Regions from separate parts of the Homo sapiens genome. Here all the other regions are linked to region 1. Evidence: promoter capture Hi-C in 16 types of primary human blood cells and fetal thymus (Javierre and others, 2016). All regions are on one chromosome and are shown on one strand. Each heading gives the region's core, a stretch centred on a gene start or on the middle of the fragment in contact. The rest is flanking DNA. Distances are from core to core; before and after follow the strand shown. Region 1 holds the start of NEXMIF (neurite extension and migration factor). Region 2 overlaps LOC107985664 (a long non-coding RNA gene). Region 3 overlaps LOC107985664 (a long non-coding RNA gene).

Region 1 (3,806 bases), core at 260-2,759:
ATAAAAATCAAGAGTGCTGTTGTCGAAATGGGGATGCCAATTTTTTTTTAACTTCGAAAAAGACAGAAAACCTTGCGCGGGTGATTCGGTCCCTCACGAATCAGACAGACAGAAGCAGTCATGCTGAAATCGCTGAATTCCTCAGCGGAACGGCGCCAACTCAGCAGCGCGGTTTCCACACTTTCCCGGAGCGGGACTCCGCTCCCCGCGCCGGCTCACGGCCTTCCCGCCCTACAGGGTGTACAAGACGCGAGCCGACGTGTGCTGCGGGGCGCGGCAGAGAGAAGCGCCAGAAGCCACACAGAAAAGCGTCAATTCGACCGCCACCGAGAGCGCGAAGGGGCCACAAGCCAATTTCCGCAAAGGAGATGAGCTGGGCGAGGCTCGGTCTGGCCTCCAACTTAAACCTGTCCGCAGCCTCGGCCGAGTGGCGCGTGTCCTGGGGGCGCTCTGTGGTCGCCACGGCCGCCCGGCTTCGCACCTTTGCGGCTTTGGTCCGAGCGCCCGGCCTCGGCCGCCGCGTGGGTTTTCCCGCTCTCGCCGAAGCGTGCCATGCCCATGCCCCATTCCCTGGCCAGGCTCTACCCTGCACCAGTCCGAAAGGAGGCGGCACTCTGCCGAGCTGCGTGCGTGTAAGCGCGGCGGCTCCGGTCCGCTCGCTTCCCCTCCCCCCGCAACCCCCTTCCTACGGCGCAAGCACAGAGGCCTTTCCTAGATTGCAGTGCCTGTCAGGGCGAGCCGGGATCTCTCGCCCTAGCGGCCTCGCTCCCTCATACACAGACACACACATTCGCATACAGACGTCCTCCGTTCCGTTTTCCCTTCCTTCTCGTCTAGCTCGACTTACCCCAGTTCATTCCACCCCCTGCGGCCGCCACCCCGAGCCAGCCGGGGAGCCGGCGAGAAGGCCAGGAAGCTGTATGGCAGCGCTCCTACTCACCTCACAGGCCGACTCCCGAGGCGCACGTCGCTGGCGGGCTCAGGCAGCAGGCGCTGTAGCTAGCGCGGTCGCAGTCAAGGCTGGGCTGTCGCCGTCGCCGCAGCTGTTCGAGCTGCCTTAGCCGCCACCGCCGCTGCTACTGCTGCCGCCGCCGCCGCCGCCTCTGCCTCAGCTCCATACGCTGGGCCCGCCAGGTGGACGCGCCTCTCTCCTCGCTCGCTCCCTCAGGCTCCGCCGCCGCCGCGCTAGATGGAGTCAGAGCTGTCGGGCTCTGGCCCTGAAACTCAGAGCCTCCGCGGCTGCCCGGCTGCTCCAAGGGTCCGTGCTTCGCTTACACTGTCGCTCGCCCCGGCTGGAGCTACCTAGCGAGCGGGCTGCGCGCTCGGCGCCTGGAGCCCGCTCTGTGCGGTGGCTGCGGCCGTCCGCGAGAGGGAGAGAGGAGGGCGGCTGCTACTGTCGCTATAGCTGTTAAAGCTATTGCTAAATGCTGCTACTGCCGCTAATGCTACTGCTGTGGCGGCGGTGGTGGCGGCGGCGGCTGCTGCTGCTGCTGCTGATGCTACTGGTTTTCCTTCCCAGGTTCTTCCCCTGCCTCGTCCCCCCTCCTCCCCCTTCCTCCTCCTCCTCCTACTCCTCCTCCTCCTTCTCTTCCTCCTCCCTCTTCTCCTCCCTCTGCCGCTTTTCTCAGAGCCTCTGCAGGCACTGCCTGGTCCCCTCTTCTCCCGGAGCTGTCTCTGCCCATTCAGAAAGGTGCCCAGAGTGGGGCCGCCTCTGCTGCCACCATCGCTGTTGCCCCTGCCATTGTTTCCTCCAACACGGCTGTTCTTGCTGGACGCCTTCCCCCCTCTACCCTTCTTCCCCACCACAGCTCTCCCTTTCCCTCCCGCTCTCCTTACCCTCTCTATGGTCCCTTCCTTATGTGCCCCCCCAACTCTGTCCGTCTGTCCTTCCCTCCCCTCGGGCGCCCGGGAGCGCGCACTGCGCGGCCACCTGTCATAAAGGGCGCGCACCCCCCTTCCCCATTCCCACCCCGCCCCCCACTCGCGTTCCTGCTGCCCTTCCAGTCCACTACGCCAGTGGTGCGTTCTTCCCCTGGCAGACACGCAACCGGACACCACTCTCCCATGCCTTTTAGGGCAGTTGTGTGTGCGGAGAGGGGCACTCTGAAGTTTGGGGAAGAATATTTGAATGGTTTCATCCACCAAGCATCTAACCATTCAACCTTTACCTACTCTTAACTTAAGGGCCTGGGCCCCCAGGAAGGTGGGTCCTTTTTGAAGGGTTGGATGAAGGCAGACAATTGGGGAGTGACGTTTGGGGAATAAAGGAAAGAAGGGAAGCTGAATATGGCCAGGAAGGAAAACAGATCTGCCTGATGGCTGTCATTGAAAAATCTCTTAGGTGGTCATTTTCCTTCAGACGTCCTGGGAACTCAACAGGAAACAGCAAAACGATTGGAGAGCAACTCAGGAGGGACCATTTAGTACTTCTGGAGTCCTGGGTGCAAGGTTGAGGCCTGAGCCTCGGGAGATTTGTCACCACTAGGAGCCAAGGCAAGAGATGAAAAGGTTGGTACTAGAACAGAAGGGGTAAAAGTAGCTACTTTGTGTGCACTTGCTCCAACATCATTGCCAAAGCACAGCTTCTCCAGTCAGGCAGGGCCTCATTTCAGATTTCTTTGCTGCCACAGCTACAGCGTCATTTTGCTACGAGGGCTCAGGCTTTGAGATCTGATGTGTGCAACTTCTCACCATCACCTGTCACACAATCCCTCCCCAGAAACAGTGCAGAGGCGGGGGTATATTTTCTTTTCCCTGGCAAAGTACAGGAGATAAATGTTCCAGATATCCCATTGACAATAAGGTCTGGGTCACTTTACCAAGTTTGAGGCGCTCTACCATGGGTCTTTCATTCCTGGACAATAAACTGTCTGTATGGCTTTTACAACTCCCCATCTCTGTGCCTTTGTTTCTGTCATCCCACTTGCTTGAAACACTCTTGTTATTTCTCCCTCTCATTTTATATCTATGAAACTCATCCATAAATAATAGCTCATCCTGAAATAATTATACTTATTGGGTCCTTACTATGTGCCAGACACTGTGCTAAGCAATTTACATGAATTATTTAATCTTCACAACAAACACAATTTTACTATCTCCATTTTACAAATGAGAAAATCGAGTCACAAGGAAGTTAGGTATATGTGTCCTGAGGATAGGGATGATATGTTATTTATCTTGCATTTGTGAGACACTGTGCAAATATATTTGCATCTTTCAGGCACTGGAATAAATAAGAAGACAAAATTTGGCCTCTGTTCTCAAAAGCAAAAACAAACAAACAAAAAAGGTTAAACATGTAAAATGCCACCCATCTATTGGCTGGATCTCAATATCCAGAATGAATTGCTCTTTTTCCGTTGTCGGAAAGCACATTGTTTTCACCTGTATTAACTACATATGCTATTCTTCCTTTATAAAGTTAGTTGCTTATTTGTTACCAGTTATAATTTTTGTCAATGCCCTCCAGCCAAAAACTACCAGAAACACAACTGTAGTTGAACAATTTGGGTTTACTACTTGTTAGAGTGAGGGAGAACACACACCATGGGTGTTATGGGCTGATTTGCATTTCCCCAAAAATTCATATGTTGAAGCTCTGACTATTCCCAGTACCCCAGAATGTGACTGCTTGGAGATAGGGCCTTTGCAGAGGATACTAAGTTAAAATAAGGCCTTGAGAATGGGCCCTAATCTAATATGACTGAGGTCCTTATAAGAGGAGAAAATTAGGACACAGACAACACAAAAAGGCCATCTGCAAGCCAAGGAGATGGTGATCTCAGGAGAAACCAGACCTACTG
Region 2 (4,009 bases), core at 1,105-3,604, 680 kb after region 1:
TGTGGGTAACCCGACCTTTCTCTCTGGCTGCCCTTAACATTTTTTCCTCATTTCAACTTTGGTGAATCTGACCATTATGTGTCTTGGAGTTGCTCTTCTCGAGGAGTATCTTTGTGACATTCTCTGTATTTCCTGAATCTGAATGTTGGCCTGCCTTGCTAGATTGGGGAAGTTCTCCTGGATAATATCCTGCAGAGTGTTTTCCAACTTGTTTCCATTCTCACCGTCACTTTCAGGTACACCAGTCAGACGTAGATTTGGTCTTTTCACATAGTCCCATATTTCTTGGAGGCTTTGTTCATTTCTTTTTATTCTTTTTTCTCTAAACTTCTCTTCTCGCTTCATTTCATTCATTTGATCTTCCTTCACTGATACCCTTTCTTCCAGTTGATCACATCGGTTACTGAGGCTTGTGCATTCATCACGTAGTTCTCGTGCCATGGTTTTCAGCTCCATCAGGTCCTTTAAGGGCTTCTCTGCATTGGTTATTCTAGTTAGACATTTGTCTAATCTTTTTTCAAGGTTTTTAACTTCTTTGTCATGGATTCAACTTCCTTCTTTAGCTCAGAGTAGTTTGATCGTCTGAAGCCTTCTTCTCTCAACTCGTCAAAGTCATTCTCCATCCACCTGTGTTCATTGCTGGTTCGGAGCTGCATTCCTTTGGAGGAGGAGAGGCACTCTGATTTTTAGAATTTTCATTTTTTTTCCTCTGTTTTTTCCCCATCGTTGTGGTTTTATTTACCTTTGGTCTTTGATGATGGTGACGTACAGATGGGGTTTTGGTGGGGATGTCCTTTCTGTTTGTTAGTTTTTCTTCTAACAGTGAGGACCCTCAGCTGCAGGTTTGTTGGAGTTTGCCGGAAGTCCATTTCAGACCCTGTTTGCCTGGATATCCTCAGCGGAGCCTGCAGAACAGCTCATATTGGTGAACCGCAAAGGTTGCTGCCTGATTCTTCATCTGGATGTTTTGTCTCAGAGGAGTACCTGGCCTTGTGAGGTGTCAGTCTGCCCCTACTGGTTGGTGGCTCCCAGTTAGGCTACTCGGGGGTCAGGGACCCACTTGAGGAGGCAGTCTGTCCGTTCTCAGATCTCCAGCTGCATGCTGGGAGAACGATTACTGTCTTCAAAGCTGTCAGACAGGGACATTTAAGTCTGCAGAGGCTTGTGCTGCCTTTTGTTTGGCTATGCCCTGCCCCCAGAGGTGGAGTCTACAGAGGCAGGCAGGCCTCCTTGACCTGGGGTGGGCTCCACCCAGTTCGATCTTCCTGGCCACTTTGTTTACCTACTCAAGCCTTGGCAATGGCGGGCGCCCCTCCCCCAGCCTCGCTGCGGCCTTGCAGTTTGATCTCAGACTGCTGTGCCAGCAATGAGTGAGGCTCCGTGGGCGTGGGACCCTCCGAGCCAGGCACGGGATATAATCTCCTGATGTGCCATTTGGTAAGACTGTGAGAAAAGCGCAGTATTTGGGTGGAAGTGACCCGATTTTCCAGGTGCCGTCTGTCACCCCTTTCCTTGGCTAGGAAAGAGAATTCCCTGACCCCTTGCACTTCCCAGGTGAAGCGATGCCTCTCCCTGCTTCGGCTCACACTCACTGTGCTACACCCATTGTCCTACACCCACTTTCTGACAATCCGCAGTGAGATGATCCTGGTACCTCAGTTGGAAATGCAGAAATCATTTGTTTTTTGTGTTTCTCATGTTGGTAGCTGTTCCTATTTGGCCATCTTGGCTGAGGCCCTGCTTTAACTGCTTTCTGTGCACCGTTTGTTTAATCATGTTAAAAACTCTCAGAGGTTATACCATTATCATTCCCTGTTTGGAGATGTAGTAATTAAGACACAGACTTGCCTACAATTCATATAGAAAGTAAGTGATTGAGCCAATATTGAGAACTTAGGTAGCCTGACTCCGTGGCCAAGGCTCTTCAATATTATGCTTTGCTACCTCATAAGAGGCCAAAGATCCTTGAACGAAGGTGAGTAGAAACAGAAAATCTCCTAGTAGCTTTCTCTGCCTTTACTACTTCCCTTCAATCATTTCTTCTTTCTGTGTTACCTACTATTATTGTTATTTTGCCTATGATTAAATACTCCTGTCTCATTAACACTGCCCTCACAGTGACTTGGTAGGAAATCTCTTAGTAGTCCTCATATCTCTGCCTCTATTGTAAGTATTTTATGTGGTGCTTGGTGAGTATTCCTACTAGTTTATCCTACTATGGAACTCTATGCTTGCATATTTCAGAGTCAGAAAGTGAGTGGGGCTGATGGACTGCTGGGATAAACAGAGCAGGCTTTCTATATGAATTAGTTCATGGGTATGTGGAATGAGGATGTCTTGTCTTCATGCTAGAGAAATATCAAAAACCAGGAATAGGGAGCAAGTTTCGCTGAAGGGAGGCTATGCTTGATAATACTAAGTCAAGGAAACTACAGGCAGCTGGTCAAAGCTAGCCTATTACCAGTTTTTGTAAATAAAAATTTATTGGAATACAGCCATCCATTCACTTATGTATTGTCTGTGGCTGCTTTTGTGTGATGACTGCAGAATTGAATTGTTGCAGTAGAGACCATATGGCCCACAGAGGCTAAGATAACTACTATTTGGCCCTTTGCAGAAATATTTTGCCAGCCCTTGATGTATGAGATGGAGCATCCTGTATTATTCGAGGTTTCTATGCAGGGAAATGCTAAGAGATTAAATTTGAGTTTTAGATAGAGACATTTGGAAGCACTGAGAAGAAGAAATCTAGATTCAGGGGCCAGAGAGATCAAAACAGGGTAAAAAAGAACTAGCGAGCACTGAGAGCAAGTAGATAAAAGGGATTAGCATTTAGATGTGCCAGTGAAGATAGGTTTTCCAGGATTTGACTGAAGTGTGTGTGTGTGTGTGTTTGTGTGTGTTTGTATGTGTATGCATGTGTATGTCGAGAAAGGAGGATTTCTAATTCTGAGAAAATGAGAGGACAGAGAGAGGAACATAGTACAAAAAGATAGAAGAAATACCCTCCCATTTCTGTAATTTCTGTTTGAAATGACCACTACATTTCTTTCTGCAGAAAGAGTTTTCTTTGCAGAAATTTTCCCTAGGGCTGGTCTGCCAGTATCTGTATTTCTTAGGCAACAGTGCCCCTAGTGTCTATATGACAGTATCACAATCTGCTAGACAAGATTTCTTGATGAGGGCTTAAAAAAGACCAATTGCAAAGATCACATTGCTGAGACAGTTTTTCTTCTTTGTCAAAATTGATATAGATGACCAGGTACACTCTCACCAGAAATACACTGGTAAAGTCTGCTTATTAGGAGAGGCTGTGGAGGGTGGACCTGGTGTCTTTTTTTTGCCTTGTGAGGCTAATTCATATAAATGTCAGGTATAAAAATAGTATCTTCTTTCAAGAAACTGCCTTCAGCTTTGCCATATCTACAATGCCATGGACTAAGAATAACACCTTAATGAGTTTTGAGGGTTACTTTTCATAGGTGGTCTATGGCAGGAACTACTGAATTTATGAACTGCCCCTCTTTGTCATCCTTTGCCTATCCTTCAAGGCCAGGATAGTTGCCTTCCAGTTGAAGCCTTGTTAGGATGTGAAAGCACAAGAAGATGCCAAGTCAAGATCCAGTCCCAGTTGTGCAAAGCACCACCCCTATCATGTAGAAGCCTGGATGTCTTAGTCCTCAGGGCTGCCCTTACTTTTCCAGGGGATAGCCATAATTCTCAACCAAAAGTCTTTAGTCTCAACCTTAAACACACACTGAGTGTGTCAATTCAGTGCGCGGTCCTCCCTTATACACTTTCAAGGGAGACTGGCCTATCTTTTGGCACTAGCCTCAAGAAGCCAGGAATGGCAGGCAGCCATGAGCTACACATCATGGGAATTAAATTGAAAGTGTAAATGAAAAGAGTATAATGGGGTAGGTCTACTGTGACTTTTGTTCTGCTTTCAATCTCTAATTATTTTGGCATGGAACAATTAAAGTAAATAATGACTAGTTACAATTTTGTC
Region 3 (3,828 bases), core at 581-3,080, 700 kb after region 1:
CCTGAATAATTCTGGCTCTTGTGATTATTTGTTAGGCAACGCAGCCTCCAGTGTCAGAATTGCTGTACTGCACCTTGAATTATGAAGACACTGCCCAGGTGCAGATTGACAGGGTGTCTTAGGCCATTCTCACATTACTATAAAGAAATACCTAAGACTGGGTAATTTATAAAGAATAGAGGTTTAATTGGCTCATGGTTCTGCAGGCTGTGCAGGAAGCTTGGTGCTGGCATCTGCTTGGCTTCTGAGGAAGCCTCAGGAAACTTATGATCATGTGGAAGGTGAAGGGGAAGCAGGCACGTCTTACATGGCAGGAGCAGGAGTAAGAGGGCGAGGGAGGTGCTACACACTTTTAAACAACTAGATTTCAGGAGAACTGACTCACTATCATGAGAACAGCACCAAGGTGATGGTGCTAAACCACTGTGAGAAATCTACCCCCATGATCTAGTCACCTTCCCACCTCCATCATTGGGGATTACAACTGAACGTGATATATTACAGGGACAGGAGCCAATTACTTACAGGACTAGTTACATCTTCCTGTTTTGAATTGAGACAGATGCAGAGTCAGGTTTCAGGACTTTATCCTGGCTATTGTCGTATTCAGGAAACAGCTGGATCTGATCAAGGTTGTGTATAAAAGACAAGGTGCAGAAACCATTTCAAATAAAGATTGGGTGGGGCTACAGTGCTTATGTTCAGTCTGGGTGTTGAAGGAAATTGATGAATCTTTATGTTGGGTGTTGGGGCTTCCATGCTTCCATACCATACAGACCCCAGTGGTGGAGCTGGGGTATAGAGTGGTATAGCCCTGGCAGCATAATTGGGGTTCATGCCTCTGCCATTGTTGGTGCTGGTCAGGCTGTGGTTTATAATCAGGCCTGGTTGTGTGGCAGAACCCATAAGACAGGTTCATTATGAGGGGTGTCGGATGTCAGATGTACAGACATGTACAAACATTTTTCTTTGTGAAGCTTTGTGGTCTAATATATCTATCCTCTTGTTTGTTGTCACAGATGCTGGAGGGAGTGGAGGAAGAAGTTTAATTACCACATACAGCTCTTCCATATGCAAGGTCTCTGGGGCAAAACTGTCATTCTGTCTGAAGCCAGACCCTCAATGTCAGACTAAGAGAGTCGGATGGAGACTACATCTTCTGTGTGTGTTGCAATGGGAGGACTTCTCTCCACCGAGTTTAGTGAGGGTAAGGTGCCAGGAAAAGTGATCATATTCATTCTTATGTTTGTAAAAGAATGATTGTTCACATATCTCTAAAAAGACCAAAACTGTGTATGTTGCAATGTGAAGACTTCCCCCAACCAAGTTTAGTGAGGGTAAGGTACCTGGAAAAGAGATAATATTCATTCTTATGTCTGTAAAAGAGTGATTGTTCACATATCTCTAGGAAGACCAAAAGCTTCTCCCAGCCAGTGATCTGCTTTTCCCTCTGCATTTATTCCTAGTGGTACTTAATCCAGCTTCCTCTCTCACCCAGGACTTGCTGCCTCCTACATTCTTATCTCTCAGAGACTGCAGGGATAAATGTCCAGCTTCTATGTGCCAGAACCTGGGGCACCAGGGAAGAATCTATACAAAGGCCACAAAAAGCACTAAAGCTCAAGAAAATGAATTCTGATGTCATAGTAGGAAAGAAGATAGGCCATGTTAATCACATGATAATTGAGTGGAGTAAGAGAATTTCCAATCAGAGGCTTCATTGTGTGACTCAGGGGCCGTTTTCAGGGAAATAAGTCATAGTCATTCATAAGGAGCATGAATGGTGTGGAGCTGTGTTTTGTGCTTGAAAGAATAGATGGGAATCAGAACCTGGTGGCCAATGTGTGCTCAGCAGAGATATTTTCTGCTTTATCTCTTTGTCAAAGGGTTGTGGGCAAGAGAGTGAAAGATACATTATAACTTAGATCTGTGGTTTAAAAATATCAGTTTGAGAATGATATATTTTAAAAGATGCATTGGAGGGAGTAAGAAGTGCTAAGTAGGTGAAATACTTTTTAAAATTCTAGGTAAGACATGATAATGTGGAAGTATTAGCCAGTGAGACATTACAGACTTATGGTCTATATGATTTTCTTACTGGATTGTGAGATGGTGAGAGTGATTTCACAGTCAATGCTGAAAGGTATTGGTGCCATTAACAAGAAGGGGAACGACGGGGGATAGGTATGGGAGAAACAACACTTTGTATTACTATATTCCTGTTTTCCTTGGTAGAACTTGAAGCTTATTTCATAAAATTTCTACATTTTTTCCAAACAAGTGTTCTGTTTGTTACATGACCGTGTTAGGCTTTTTGTTTTGTTTTGTTTCTCTTTTTGCTTTTTTGTTTTTGTTTTATTGTTTGTTTTGTTTTATTAATTTTAATTTTTTAATTTTTTTTTATATGTTATTGGGGTACAGGTCTTGTTTGGTTACATGAGTAAGTTCTTTAGTGGTGATTTGTGAGATTTTGGTGCACCCATCACTGGAGCAGTATACACTGCACCATATTTGTAGTCTTTTATCCCTCACACCATTCCCACCCTTCCCCTAAGTCCCCAAAGTCCATGGCATCATTCTTATACCTTTGCGTCCTCATAGCTTAGCTCCCACATATCAGTGAGAATGTATGATGTTTGGTTTTTTAATCCTGAGTTACTTCACTTAGAACTATAGTCTCTAATCTCATCCAGGTCACTGCAAATGCTGTTAATTCATAATTCATTCCTATTTATGGCTGAGTATTATATATATATGCCACAATTTTCTTTATCCACTCATTGATTGATGGGCATTGGGGTTGTTTCCACGATTTTACAATTGAGAATTGTGCTGCTATAAACATGGGTGTGCAAGTATCTTTTTCGAATAATGACTTATTTTCCTCTGGGTAGATACCCAGTAGTGGGATTGCTGGATCAAATGGTAGTTCTACTTTTTGTTCTATAAGGAATCTTCACACTGTTTTCCATAGTGACTGTACTAGTTGACATTCCCACCAGCAGTGTAGAAGTGTTCCTTGATCACTATATCAATGCCAACATCTACTCTTTTTTTTATTTTTTGATTATGGCCATTCTTGCAGGAGTAAAGTGGTATCACATTGTGGTTTTGATTTGCATTTCCCTGATCTTCAGTGATGTTGAGCATTTTTTATATGTTTGGTGGCCATTAGTATATCTTCTTTTGATTATTATCTATTCATGTCCTTAGCCCACTTTTTGATGAGATCGTTTGTTTTTTTCTTGCTGATTTGTTTGACTTCATTGTAGATTCTGGATATTGGGCCTTTGTCAGATGTATAGATTGTGAAGATTTCCTCCCACTTTGTGGGCTGTTTGTTTACTCTGCTGACTGTTCCTTTTGCTGTGCAAAAGCTCTTTAGTTTAATTAGGTCCCAACTATTTATCTTTGTTTTTATTGCATTTCCTTTGGATTCCTGGTCATGAAATCCTTGCTTAAGCCAATACCTAGAAAGGTTTTTCCAGTGTTATCTTCTAAAATATTTATAGCTTCAGGTCTTAGGTTTAAGTTCTTAATCCATCTTGAGTTGATTTTTCTATAAGGTGATAGATAAGGATGCAGTTTCATTCTCCTACATGTGGCTAGCCAAGTATCCCAGCACCATTAGTTGAAAAGGGCGTCCTTATATTTTTGTTTCCTTTGTCAAACATCAGTTGGCTATAAGTATTTGGGTTTATTTCTTTGTTCTCTCTTCTGTTCCATTGGTCTATGTGCCTATTTTTATACCAGTGCTATACTGTTTTGGTACTACGGCCTTATATTATAATTTGAAACCAGGTAGTGTGACGCCTCTAGATTTACTCT

Evidence for each region. Contacts are between HindIII fragments. The CHiCAGO score rates a contact against its expected background, and 5 or more counts as called.
Region 2: a fragment that was not itself captured here is called in contact with the fragment with the promoter of NEXMIF in region 1 in 1 of 17 cell types (erythroblasts); the score reaches 5.3 in erythroblasts.
Region 3: a fragment that was not itself captured here is called in contact with the fragment with the promoter of NEXMIF in region 1 in 3 of 17 cell types (erythroblasts, total CD4 T cells and endothelial precursors); the score reaches 7.1 in erythroblasts.

What each region holds. Positions count from the first base shown.
Region 1 is chrX:74,923,943-74,927,748 of GRCh38, forward strand. It overlaps NEXMIF (neurite extension and migration factor), which reads right to left and starts at 1,510. Exons shown (of 4, transcript NM_001008537.3): 1 at 941-1,510. RefSeq lists a silencer at 389-548. The HindIII fragment of the contact is 8,655 bases long and covers 1-3,806 here.
Region 2 is chrX:75,600,893-75,604,901 of GRCh38, forward strand. The region is part of intron 1 of LOC107985664 (a long non-coding RNA gene); the gene reads left to right. Among named protein-coding and RNA genes, the nearest start is that of ZDHHC15, 80 kb to the left of the region's middle. The HindIII fragment of the contact is 4,979 bases long and covers 1-4,009 here.
Region 3 is chrX:75,623,682-75,627,509 of GRCh38, forward strand. It overlaps LOC107985664 (a long non-coding RNA gene), which reads left to right. Exons shown (of 5, transcript XR_007068273.1): 3 at 1,020-1,207. Among named protein-coding and RNA genes, the nearest start is that of ZDHHC15, 100 kb to the left of the region's middle. The HindIII fragment of the contact is 824 bases long and covers 1,419-2,242 here.